Linked DNA regions of Homo sapiens: regions 2, 3 and 4 are each linked to region 1. Evidence: promoter capture Hi-C in human tissues and cell types (Jung and others, 2019). All regions are on one chromosome and are shown on one strand. Each heading gives the region's core, a stretch centred on a gene start or on the middle of the fragment in contact. The rest is flanking DNA. Distances are from core to core; before and after follow the strand shown. Region 1 holds the start of PAPPA-AS1 (PAPPA antisense RNA 1). Region 2 overlaps ASTN2 (astrotactin 2). Region 3 overlaps ASTN2 (astrotactin 2). Region 4 overlaps ASTN2 (astrotactin 2).

Region 1 (2,700 bases), core at 171-2,670:
TTATATATTGCCAAAAGATTTAACTTAGATCCATAAAAACACATAAACAGAAAAAAAAATAGGAGCAGCAAATTTATGCGCGTGAGGTACAGAAAAAGGATTGGAATTGTGTTTAGTTTTTGGTGTTTAGATTATTTTCTTTGTGTCTTTCTTCTTTTTCTTTTTTTTTTTCTTTTTTACAATAGGCCAGAAGAATTCTTATGAGAACAGCTTTTAAGCACTTCAATGGAGTGTCATTTTTTTGGTAGCTTCCAGAAGGTGCCAAACAGGTTTCAACATCATATTAATTAGAAATACCCATAATAATTATAACAATAATAAAAAGGTATAATATGGTACATAAATATGGAAGAGCAGTTTGTAATATGAATACATTTTCTCTAGACGAGATCACAGTTTTATTTTGTAAATATTACATTTAAGTATATATATACACACATATATGTACAACTATATATACATGTGCATATATATGTAAATTTATATTTATATATAATATCTTTATATAGATAGATATCTGCAGACAGGTTATTGATTATAGAGACCCAAGAAAGCAACTCAATAATTGTTCAAAGTTTTCCTCACTGACTGCTGGTGTGTAGTTTAAGAAGCCCCCATTTGTTTGCACTCAGAATGCCTTATCTTCTTTTAATGGAACACTTGATGTGGAATTTTAAGTCTGAGAAGTGAGGTGCCTTCTGAAGAAGAGATTTTAGAGACTCCCTTCCTCTATAAGTTGGAAATGACCAGAAGTCTTAAGTAGACGACAGTTAGCTGACTTTGACATTGTAGGACATAATCAGCTTTTAACCAAATTATAGAACTGGTAAAGGGTAAGATCAAATTTGCCAAAAAAATAAAATATTCTCCAATACAGGTCTCTCTTTTAAGGTGGACTACAATTCAGGAGCTCCGGCTTTATTCCTTGAAATATCAAACAAGCACTCCCTGTCTTGTCTTTCTAAAAGGCCGATGGGCCTGTGCATTCTTGAATAATAACCCATGGACTTTGTGTCAAGCGTTGGCCCTCACAGCCCACCTAAAACCTCAGGGCCTCAAAATCTCCTGCCCTCCCACTGTGAGGTAGGTATATAGTATTATCCCCATTTTGCAGCTAGAGAAACTGATGCAAATGTAGAGGCAATTGGATAACTTGTTCAAGATCACTGAGCAAACTGCTGCCTGGAGTCAAAAATTCTAACTTCTGTACAACAGGGACATAATTTCTCTTTTGGCTATTATACATTTCTTTTAAAAAGCAAGTGATTGGTAGGAATTTGGCAAAAGTTGAATAAGTTACAAGAACAGGCTTTTATTCATTTGCTATTTGGTTTTTATGTTTCTTGTTTACTTCGTTTGATTTGTTTCTCAAAACTCACTCAGTGGGATTACCTGTCTGTCATGTAGCAGCTTTTTAAAAAACTGGACTGTGCAGTGTGGTTCTGAGTGCAGTCTTTATAAAGCCCAGTGCTGTACTGGTAAATATAAACATTTTATAACGTGAAAAGCACAACGACACAATATGTCCCCTTAATAGCTGGAAAAACCAATATAAGCCCTCCCACTCCCTACTACCACTGATTGCCACCAAACAAATAAACAAAATGCCCACCCCACCCAACAACAACAATAACACATCAAGGGGGAAAATGTCATATTTCCTGGACCTACCACAATGTACAGAAAATAACAGACAGTGTTATCAAATCCCACTCTATGTCTTCTAGGGAAATCTTTATGTTTGTGTCTACCTACTGAGGCTGTAGAATAAACAATTTCCTTTAGGAAACATAAAAATAGGTTTTTTATTCTTAGTTTTTAATCATGCATTTTTATTTCCTTTTAATCTCTTTGTCTTCTATTATCTCTATCTGTACAGCTTTGTCACCATTTTTTTTTATTTTCTCACTTGAAGTAGTTCCAGAAAAAAACACAAAACCTCAAAACTGTTAACTTGACCTTATAATTTCCTTTCTCTTTCTTTCTTTCTTTCTTTTTCTTTCTTTCACACAGGTAAGACCTATAACAACAAATTGACAATTACAACCAAGTTAAATCGAACCTGGAAGGGAGGTAGCTGAAATCTGTCTCAAAGAATTATTTTCAACAAATAGTATTTAAGCATTGGCCAGGATGGGAATAAGACCAAGAGAACCGTCTAGGCAGTGACTCAATGTGTTGAAGCCAGGAGTGGCAGCTGATACCCTGCATTTTCAAAGCCCTACCATCTATGACAATCTTTCCCTTCCTTAACACCCCAATTCACCATCAAAACTCATTTCCCAAGGACTGTATTTCCTTAAAAGGTTGTTGGCACAGAATCTGGGGGTAATGCAAATCCTTTGGGTAGGTAGTTAAGATTGTGGCTTGGAAAAGCTTCCCTAAATAGGGCTTAGAGGACTGTCCACCTCATCTTTCATATTTTGCTGCTAACAATCTAATACTTCAGATGCAGAACCTTCAGTGTTTTAGGGCCTTTGAGCTGCTGACACACAATAGTGCATCAGAGCTGCCTCTCAGTGCTCCGGTCACCTACACAGAAGATGACTGAAGGAATGAAATGACGAGTTAATTCCCAGGAAGAAAATGAAACTGGGAACAAATGCATTGCCCAAATTGAGCTGACCCTCCTCCACTAAGGTTTGAAAAGACCCTATTAAAGATACCTTCCATGTGGGCACGAGGTTGGCCACCAATCAA
Region 2 (2,700 bases), core at 128-2,627, 160 kb before region 1:
AAAGTAAGGGGATGATGGCTAAGGAGGCTGTCAGTAAAGGCTACATAGAAAAACAAAGGATTGAGCTGATCCTGGAATGAGCCCAGTATTGGGTGAAATGGGAATTCCAGGCAGAAAAATCTTCAAAAGCAAAGGCCCAACATATGAAAGAACATGAAAGATTCAAGGACTTGTGCATGACTCAACATTGATTCAACATGAGATACAAAAGCAGAATTAGTGAGAAATGACCCTGGAGGAGAAATCAAGGCCAGACAAGACTAAGGAATTAGATGCATTTATTGTTTTTTTCTTTTATAGTGTAGACAAGTGAAGACTATTACAGACTTTCCATCAGAGGCATATTTTAGAATGATCACTGGCTGCAGCTTGGAGGATGGACTGGAGGGCTATGTAAGAGACAGAGCTTACACATGTAGAAGGCTGCTGGATGTGGAAGATGAGTGAAGAGTCTAAAACAGTATCCAAGTATCCAGCTTGTGTTATATGTACTTGTAATCGAAGGTCTCTCTCTAGATCTTCTACACCATAGTTTTCTAACTTCAGGTCATAATCCATTAGTAGGTTGTAAAGTCAACTTATTGGATTGGAGCCAACATTTAAAAAAAGAAAATAGGATGTAGGCTGAGTGTGGTGGCTCATGCCTGTAATCCCAGCCCTTTGGGAGGCTGAGACAGGTGGATCTCTTGAGTCCAGGAGTTCAAGACCAGCCTGGACAACATGGCGAGACCCTGTCTCTGCTAAAAATACAAACAAAAAAATAGCCAGGCCACATGGTGGTGTGTGCCCATGGTCCCAGTTACTCAGGAGACTGAGGCTGAGGTGGGAAGATCACTTGAGCTTGGGGTCCGGGGTGGGAATGGGTGGGCAGGTGGAGGGAAGGGTGTGACTGGAGGTTGCAGTGAGCCGATATCACACTACTGCACTCCAGCCTGGGTGATGAAGTGAGACACTGTCTCAAAATAAATAAATAAATATATATATATATATATATATATATATATATATATATATATGGAGAGAGAGAGAGAGAGAGAGAGAGAGAGAGAGAGAAACAGTGTCTTAAAAACATTATCCTGAATGTATTATACATACATTATCCTGAATGTATTTGTTTACTTGTTAATCTCCTCAGTATGGGGCATATGTGTGTGTGTGTGTGTGTGTGTGTGTGTGTGTGTGTGTGTGTTTGTGGCAAGCCTAAGGATTTTTTCATAAAGCTTGCATTTCAGTCATATATACATGCATGTGTATACTAGGTTGGGATGGAAAACATATGAATCACACTAGGTTGGGATGGAAAATATATGAAATAGACTAGAAAATATTGTAAGGCAGTGTTGTGTCTTACATATCTTAAACTCAAGGAATTATTGAGTTGAATGAGGCGTTTGGTTCTAGCTGGCTTAGGTTTGTACTCTAAGTCTACCTCCTTCAATTGGACAATGATGCTTAGAGGAGTTAAGTGATTTCTCCAAGATGAGATAACTCTCATCATATCCCTTACAATACCTGAGTTGATTAAGAAACTGAATCTGTGTATGCATTTATGAATGAATACAGATTATAAATTAGTATCATAGAAATATTTGAGTAAATTAATTAATGAATAAATGAATCCATGAATGAATGAATAACTAGATCTATATATGACTATATGAAAAAATAAATAAATGAAGTAATGAAGGAAAGAAGAATGGGAGGGAGGAAGAAAACTCTCGAATCCTTTCACAAGCACTGGGAATCTGTAGACTATCAGCCAAGAAGTGAAGGATTTCTGAATGACCCCAGGCAGGGGACAACAACCAGTTGGAATTAATCATGTGGCCAGCACAGAGATCAGCCAAAGTTGATGCAAGTATCATTACTTGATACTGCAAGTAACGATGGCCTTGCAGTAGACTTTGTTACACACCCGTTTATTGGGTGAGCTATTAACTGTCCCAGCATGGGGGTAGCAAGGCACCTGACATTAGAGAATGAATGAGATGTTTAGGGTGGGGAGAGGTGGGCTCTTTTTCCAGCTCTGGTCTGCTGAGTCATCTCCAGCCCCAAGGGTTGCCATGCCATCATTTATCCATCCCATGACTGGGAGGCAATCAGTTCCATGCACTTTGGGCCACCTCAGAAAGCTACATGTTTAGTTCAGGGGAGAAGTGCATTAACATGGAAGAGCAAGACCCAAAGAGCCACCTGAGATCACTAAAAGTTAATCAGGCCTATGTCATTTTAACTATTTGAATCAGGTTTAGGTTCGACTCTGGACTTCTCTACTTATTTGATGTGTGGCACTGGGTTAGTCACTTTACCATTCTGAGCTTCCACTTACTCAACTGTAAAATAGACAAAATATCAATCTTAAACTAGTTCTGTAATCCATGTGCTTTGCAAAGAGTTTATGGTATATAAATGCTTGTCCTCTACCTCTCTTCTTTGTCCTTAAAATCTCCCATGCTTTTTATCTGCTTACCAATTCAGTTATTCAACAAATATCTATTGAGTTCTTACTATGTACCAGGCACTGGTATCAGCAGTTAACCAAAGAGAGAAAACTCCTTGTCTTCATGGAGCCAGCATTCTGGAACGTCAGGTTGCAGATGCAATCCAGAGACACCATTCACTCAGCTCTAAAAGATGATTCTAGAAGGAAAGGGAGACAGGAAAAGGAAAAAAGTACAAAATAAATATTTTATCAGATGT
Region 3 (2,700 bases), core at 144-2,643, 180 kb before region 1:
CTTTTCCTTCTCAACATAGTGCACTCACTCATTCTCTCTACCGTTTATTTGGCATACTCCATTCTTTGTCTTGGAGTACCTCTTCTGTATCAGAGTTGGAAGGATCTTAAGAGATCATCTAGTCTTGCTTTCTCTTTAACATTTTTGTATGCCCTTGAACATGCACTGGTAACATGCCTCCAGTGTTGGAAAACTCAGTTCTTCCTAAAGTGTTCTATATGTATGATCATGTCATCTGCAAACAGAGACAATTATACTTCTTCCTTTCCAATTTGGATGACTTTTATTTATTTATTACTTGTCTAATTGCTGTAGCTAGGACTTTTAGTACTATATGAACAGAAGTGGTAAGAACAGACATCTTTGCCTTTTTTCTAATTTTAGACGTTTAGTCTTTCACCATTAAGTATAATGCTAGTTGTATTTTTTTATGGTATATGCCCTTTATTACATGGAAGGAGGTATCTTCTATTTCTAGTTTGCTGCAAAAGCTTTGTTTTGTTTCCATTTGAAATGGATGTTGAATTTTCTGAGTCTATTGAAATGATGGTAGTGGGCTATAGTTTATCTTTCTAAGCACTTTTCTCTTGGAATTTTTTGGGCCTGAGTATAAAGTTCATCATTGATAGCAGGCCATTTGTCCAGTGAGAGATCAGAATGCCCCAGATAGTACCTAGGGATTTCGGGCAAGGAGAGTAATGCTGTCTTCACCCCCATGGTCCTCCTAAAGCCAGGGCCTTGCCTCCAGCATTGTTCTGGGGCCTGGAACACTGAGATCTGGGGAGACACATCACTCAAATTTCCTGGAAAATTCCGTTTAATGAATGACCCACCCATTCTCTCCTAGCTCCTTTGCTTCTTCCTGAGTGAGACTTAATCTCAGCAACTGGGTTACCTCACATTTCACTTTGTTTAGAAAGGATCAGGTTTTCCTCCTCTTAATTGGGTGATTAGGCCTTTGTGAGCTCACAGATCTAATCTTGAGATTTGGGTGGGTTGAATTTGGTTATGGAGACATAATAGGAAATAGTGTTTTGGGGAGTTTGGGTTAGAGGGAGTGATTGAATATATTCCTCAGTCAGAGGTCTTGTTTGGGGGCAGGCAAGAGTTTCTCCCATGAAGATGGTCTCTTCTACATCTAAAAGAGTCGGCTCAGTGACTCTCTGATGTAAATTCATGTACAACAGAAGCTTGGGATGGGAGACTGTCTGCCTCGAGTTATGCACCTTTTTGCTTTGAGGACCTGTCCTCCTTGCCATTTCAGACTCAAGGTGTGTGAGTGGGTGTGGTATAGCAGGAGTTCAGGACTTCTGGTTCTCTTTGGTTCCAACTTCAATTAAGCTATCAACTTTCTCTGTGGCTTTTGGAAAGTTGCTTTTCCTCTCAGGCTCTGTTTCACCTTCTGAAAACTTTTTTTTTTTTTTAAGGTAAGGATCTATGTCTGCCACAGTCTCATTTTGAATTAAGGCTTTATGTAGTTAAGGATGCCTAACCAGCACATGTACAGAACAGCGTGCCTAGCACTGGGCAAAGTGCTGGGTATTCGATGATGAGCAAGAATAGGCAAAAACTCTGCCTTCTTGAAATTTAGGATTAAATTGGGAACATAAGTAATAAGCAATTAACTTTAAGCAGAGACTCCTCTGGAGGGAGATCATGGCATTCCATAGTAGTGTGTAGCCAGCAATTTTAACCTGTTGTTGAAAAACTATGTTAAAATAAAATAAACATTTATTCATGGGATCCAAGAAAAGTTCTCTCTTCAGAAGCAGATGTTCCTGGTTGATTAATTAGACAAATCACTTTATTAAAGATCAACTGGTTATCTAAAGAGTCCAAGGAGAACTGCATGACTATGTACTTCCTGGGCTGGGAACCTCTGCTGGAAGGAAGGATCCTGAATCAAGTGGGGCTGGACCACTGGAAGTTTAAAGGATTGCCTAATTCTGTATCAGTGTGATAATTTGATTAATATCTGCAAGCTCCAGGAGAGCAGGGCCTAAGTCTGTGCCACTCAGCATTGCATTCCAAGACTCTGGTACAGTGTCTGGCACATAGTCAGCACTTAACAAATGTTGAATGAATGATGTCGAGAGGAGACAAGACAGGGACCAGATCTCAGAGGGATAAGAAAACAGGCTAAGCTACTTGGACTTTATCCTGTAGGAAAAGGGGAACCTTTGAAGCCTTTTGAGGATCGTAAACATAATCAGAATGGTGCTTTGGAAAGAAAGATAACTTTTCTAAACCTCCTGATCACGGTTTCTTGTTTCTTTTGCTCAACTGTGAACTTCCTGATAGATCTTTTCTCATGCTTACTGGTGTTTACACAGTTTCGTGCACAGAGAAAGTACTTAGGGAACATTGGTAGCATGAGTGAATGGAAGAATAAACAAACAAAGGTACAATAACAACAAAAAGTGGCTGGGTAGATGAAGAGAACGGTGTTCAGCACAGGCTTGGAGTTAGTTTGATATCTGAAGTCTCAGTTACATCACTTACTAGTTATGTGGCCTTGGGTACAATACTTTCTTTTGGCTTTGGGTCTTAGTTTGACTCTTAACTATGGACATTAGTATGTGGCACATAATAGGCATTCAGTAAATTTGACCATCATTATTTGTATTCTTCCTTTCATGGGGAAGATACATGGTTTTCTAGGAAAGCTGCAAAGGAGAATCCTTGGACCCTTCCCTCATT
Region 4 (2,700 bases), core at 16-2,515, 140 kb before region 1:
TATACCTGTGATTATGAAGAACTCTCTTCATTTTCTTTCAATTTTTTCTATGCATGCAAAAACAACCAACCAACCAAAAAATGTGCCGGATGGTCTTTAGGGTGCTTATCTAGTAGAGGTTATAATCAATTTAAAAGAGAGTTCCAAAAATATTTCTGTCCAACAAGATACTATATGATTTTTTTTTCAGCTGGATGATTCCAAAGGTGAACATCAAGCTTATACCAAAAATAATAGTCTTTTGTTTTGTTTTGTTTTTTTGAGATAGAGTTTTGCTCTGTCACCCAGGCTGTAGTGCAGTGGCACAATCTCAGCTCACTGCAATCTCTGCCTCCCAGGCTGAAGCAATCCTCCTGCCTCAGCCCCTCAAGTAGCTGGGAGGATTACAGGCACCTGCCACCATGCCCAGCTACTTTTTGTATTTTTGGAAGGGCTTCTCCATGTTGCCCAGGCTGGTCTTGAACTCCTGAGCTCAGGTGATCAGCCCACTTCAGCCTCCAGAAGTGCTGGGATTACAGGTATGAGCCACCACACCCAGCCAAAAATAATAGTCTTAAAACAACATTTTGATGGATGGGACTGATGATTCTCTTTTGTAACTCCAAAATGTAATCTATTTTTTTCCCAGAATATATATAACTTGGCTTTGTTCAGGTTTTTCTAAGTTGTTTTTAAAGTTAACATTGAATTTATATTTTTTTCTAATACCCTTGCAATGATCTTTGACCAAAAGTAATAAACATATTAACTTGAACTGATCTGATTTTAAAACAACTTGCTCAATTGAAGTGGCAGAATTTATTAGGCACCCTTGTAAATGATGGATCTCAGAAGATCTTATAAACCACTAAAAGTTTATGTTACCTTTTTATTTCATTAAAAATATTTTGTTGGTGCTAATGTAAATTTGTCAAACTTTCTTGAAGGCAAATTAGCAATATGTATCAAGAGAATTTGCTTATTCTAAGAAAAGTTATTTATAAAAGATTTACATGTAAGGGTGTTTATTAGGGTTCAGTTAAATAATGTTTAATAAAAAGGAAATAAAAGACAGTCATTTAAATATTACTATTGCAGAAAACATTTTACAAAATAGTATGTGGAGCAGGAGCAAGAGGAAAGTAGTGTGACTATAAAAAAAATCATGAGAAATAATTGTGGTAATGAAAATGTTCTGTTTCTTGACTGTGTCGATACCAGTATCCTGGCTGTGATATTGAATTATAGGTTTGCAAGATGTTACCACAGGAGAAAACTGGGTAAAGAGTACACAAGGTCTCTCTCTATTATTTCTTATAACTGCATATGAATCTACAATTATCTTAAAATTTAAAAATTTAATTTAAAATGGTATATAATTAAAGCACTTCTGGTTTTAGGGATGTGGATGTCTTTATTGAGAGCTGAAGGGGAAATCTTATAAATCAAGAAGACACAGAATCTGAGAAGTTATTAGACACCACATGTGCTATTCTCTCAGTCTTTGGAGGGCCCATCAGCTCTTGCCTTGTTCTGTCTCTGCTTCCATCTGCCCATGGTTAGAGTCACTTCCCCAATCTGGTGCAGTGTTTCATCCACTGCCTATCTTCCTGGTACCTTAGTACTATCAGCTGTAATTCCTGGGCAATAAATGTGAGTGGATCACCTTGGGTTAAGTTTTTACTCTCAGTCCAATTAACTATGATTAAAGCAATAGAGTTAACTAGGAAAACCATGGCAACAAGGGCCCAGTGTTCCATGTGTTGGGGCCTGCTCTCATTATAGGTTGGGTAGAACTTGCAGTGGCTCATAAGATTATAGACCCTTTCTCACTCTCTGTATTGTCCATCTGTTCAAGAAAAAATGACTATAAGAGTATATACCAAAATGTTATATTATCAGTTATTTTCTTTGTGTTAGATCTGGCAGATTTATATTTTCTCTTTCCCGCCTAAATTTCCTACTATGATCACATTTTATTTTCTGTTATAAGAAAAATGTTTAAAATTGTGTAAAATTAATTTTATGATAGAAAAGAGTATGACACATTTATTATAGAATGGGAATGCAGAAACATGAGTAAGTTACAACTATACCAGCCTAATAATATCATAATTTTGGCATATTTCTTTCCTCAATGTCCATTCCTTATATAGTGGAGAATGTCATGTATATTTTTTTCTGCTTTTTTTTTTCATTAGATGTGGCATTCAAACTTTTTCCCCTAGTTTCAAAACTAGGGGAAAAACTTTTGTAAAAATTTTCATGTTCATATACTGTTTCATAATATGGGTATCTCAAATATTATTAATCATTTATTTAGTGCTGGACATTTAGGCATTTCCAATTTCTCAATTATTTTGGAGACTGCAAGATAAAAATGGGTGCTTGCATTTTAGACAAAAATAATCTCTTATGAAGACCAGCAACTAAAAAGGAATTTTAAAATCCACTAAATTCACCTGTTGGATGGAACTTAGCAGCAGCCATTCTCTTCTATTGTGCTCCTTTCCTTTTGGAAAGTCCTGTCCCTGGGTAAGCTCTCTTTGAGATTAGTGGCTTTAGATGGCCTGCTTGGTGCCCTGCACACAGACGATCATGAAGGCACCTACAGGTGGGACGATTGCTCGCCAAGGAGAATTCATCCAGAGGCCAAAGCTGTCACCCAAGCAGTTGTCTGCCGTGGTGAACACATTTTGACCACAGGCCCGAAGTTTCCTC

What was found. Contacts are between HindIII fragments. The study calls those that stand out against the background at their distance.
Region 2: a contact is called between a fragment that was not itself captured here and the fragment with the promoter of PAPPA-AS1 in region 1, in 2 of the 25 tissues and cell types used here (H1 embryonic stem cells and IMR-90 fibroblasts).
Region 3: a fragment that was not itself captured here is called in contact with the fragment with the promoter of PAPPA-AS1 in region 1 in 1 of the 25 tissues and cell types used here (IMR-90 fibroblasts).
Region 4: a fragment that was not itself captured here is called in contact with the fragment with the promoter of PAPPA-AS1 in region 1 in 1 of the 25 tissues and cell types used here (H1 embryonic stem cells).

The regions. Positions count from the first base shown.
Region 1 is chr9:116,399,326-116,402,025 of GRCh38, reverse strand. It overlaps PAPPA-AS1 (PAPPA antisense RNA 1), which reads left to right and starts at 1,420. Exons shown (of 1, transcript NR_103711.1): 1 at 1,420-2,700. PAPPA (pappalysin 1) reads right to left here. Exons shown (of 22, transcript NM_002581.5): 22 at 1-2,700. The HindIII fragment of the contact is 20,173 bases long and covers 1-2,700 here.
Region 2 is chr9:116,563,705-116,566,404 of GRCh38, reverse strand. The region is part of intron 19 of ASTN2 (astrotactin 2); the gene reads left to right. Among named protein-coding and RNA genes, the nearest start is that of ASTN2-AS1, 61 kb to the right of the region's middle. The HindIII fragment of the contact is 4,002 bases long and covers 1-2,700 here.
Region 3 is chr9:116,582,304-116,585,003 of GRCh38, reverse strand. All of the region lies in intron 19 of ASTN2 (astrotactin 2), which reads left to right. Among named protein-coding and RNA genes, the nearest start is that of ASTN2-AS1, 79 kb to the right of the region's middle. The HindIII fragment of the contact is 4,873 bases long and covers 1-2,700 here.
Region 4 is chr9:116,540,481-116,543,180 of GRCh38, reverse strand. All of the region lies in intron 19 of ASTN2 (astrotactin 2), which reads left to right. It overlaps ASTN2-AS1 (ASTN2 antisense RNA 1), which reads right to left. Exons shown (of 12, transcript NR_033973.1): 2 at 2,442-2,700. Among named protein-coding and RNA genes, the nearest start is that of ASTN2-AS1, 38 kb to the right of the region's middle. RefSeq lists an enhancer at 2,477-2,700. The HindIII fragment of the contact is 4,711 bases long and covers 1-2,700 here.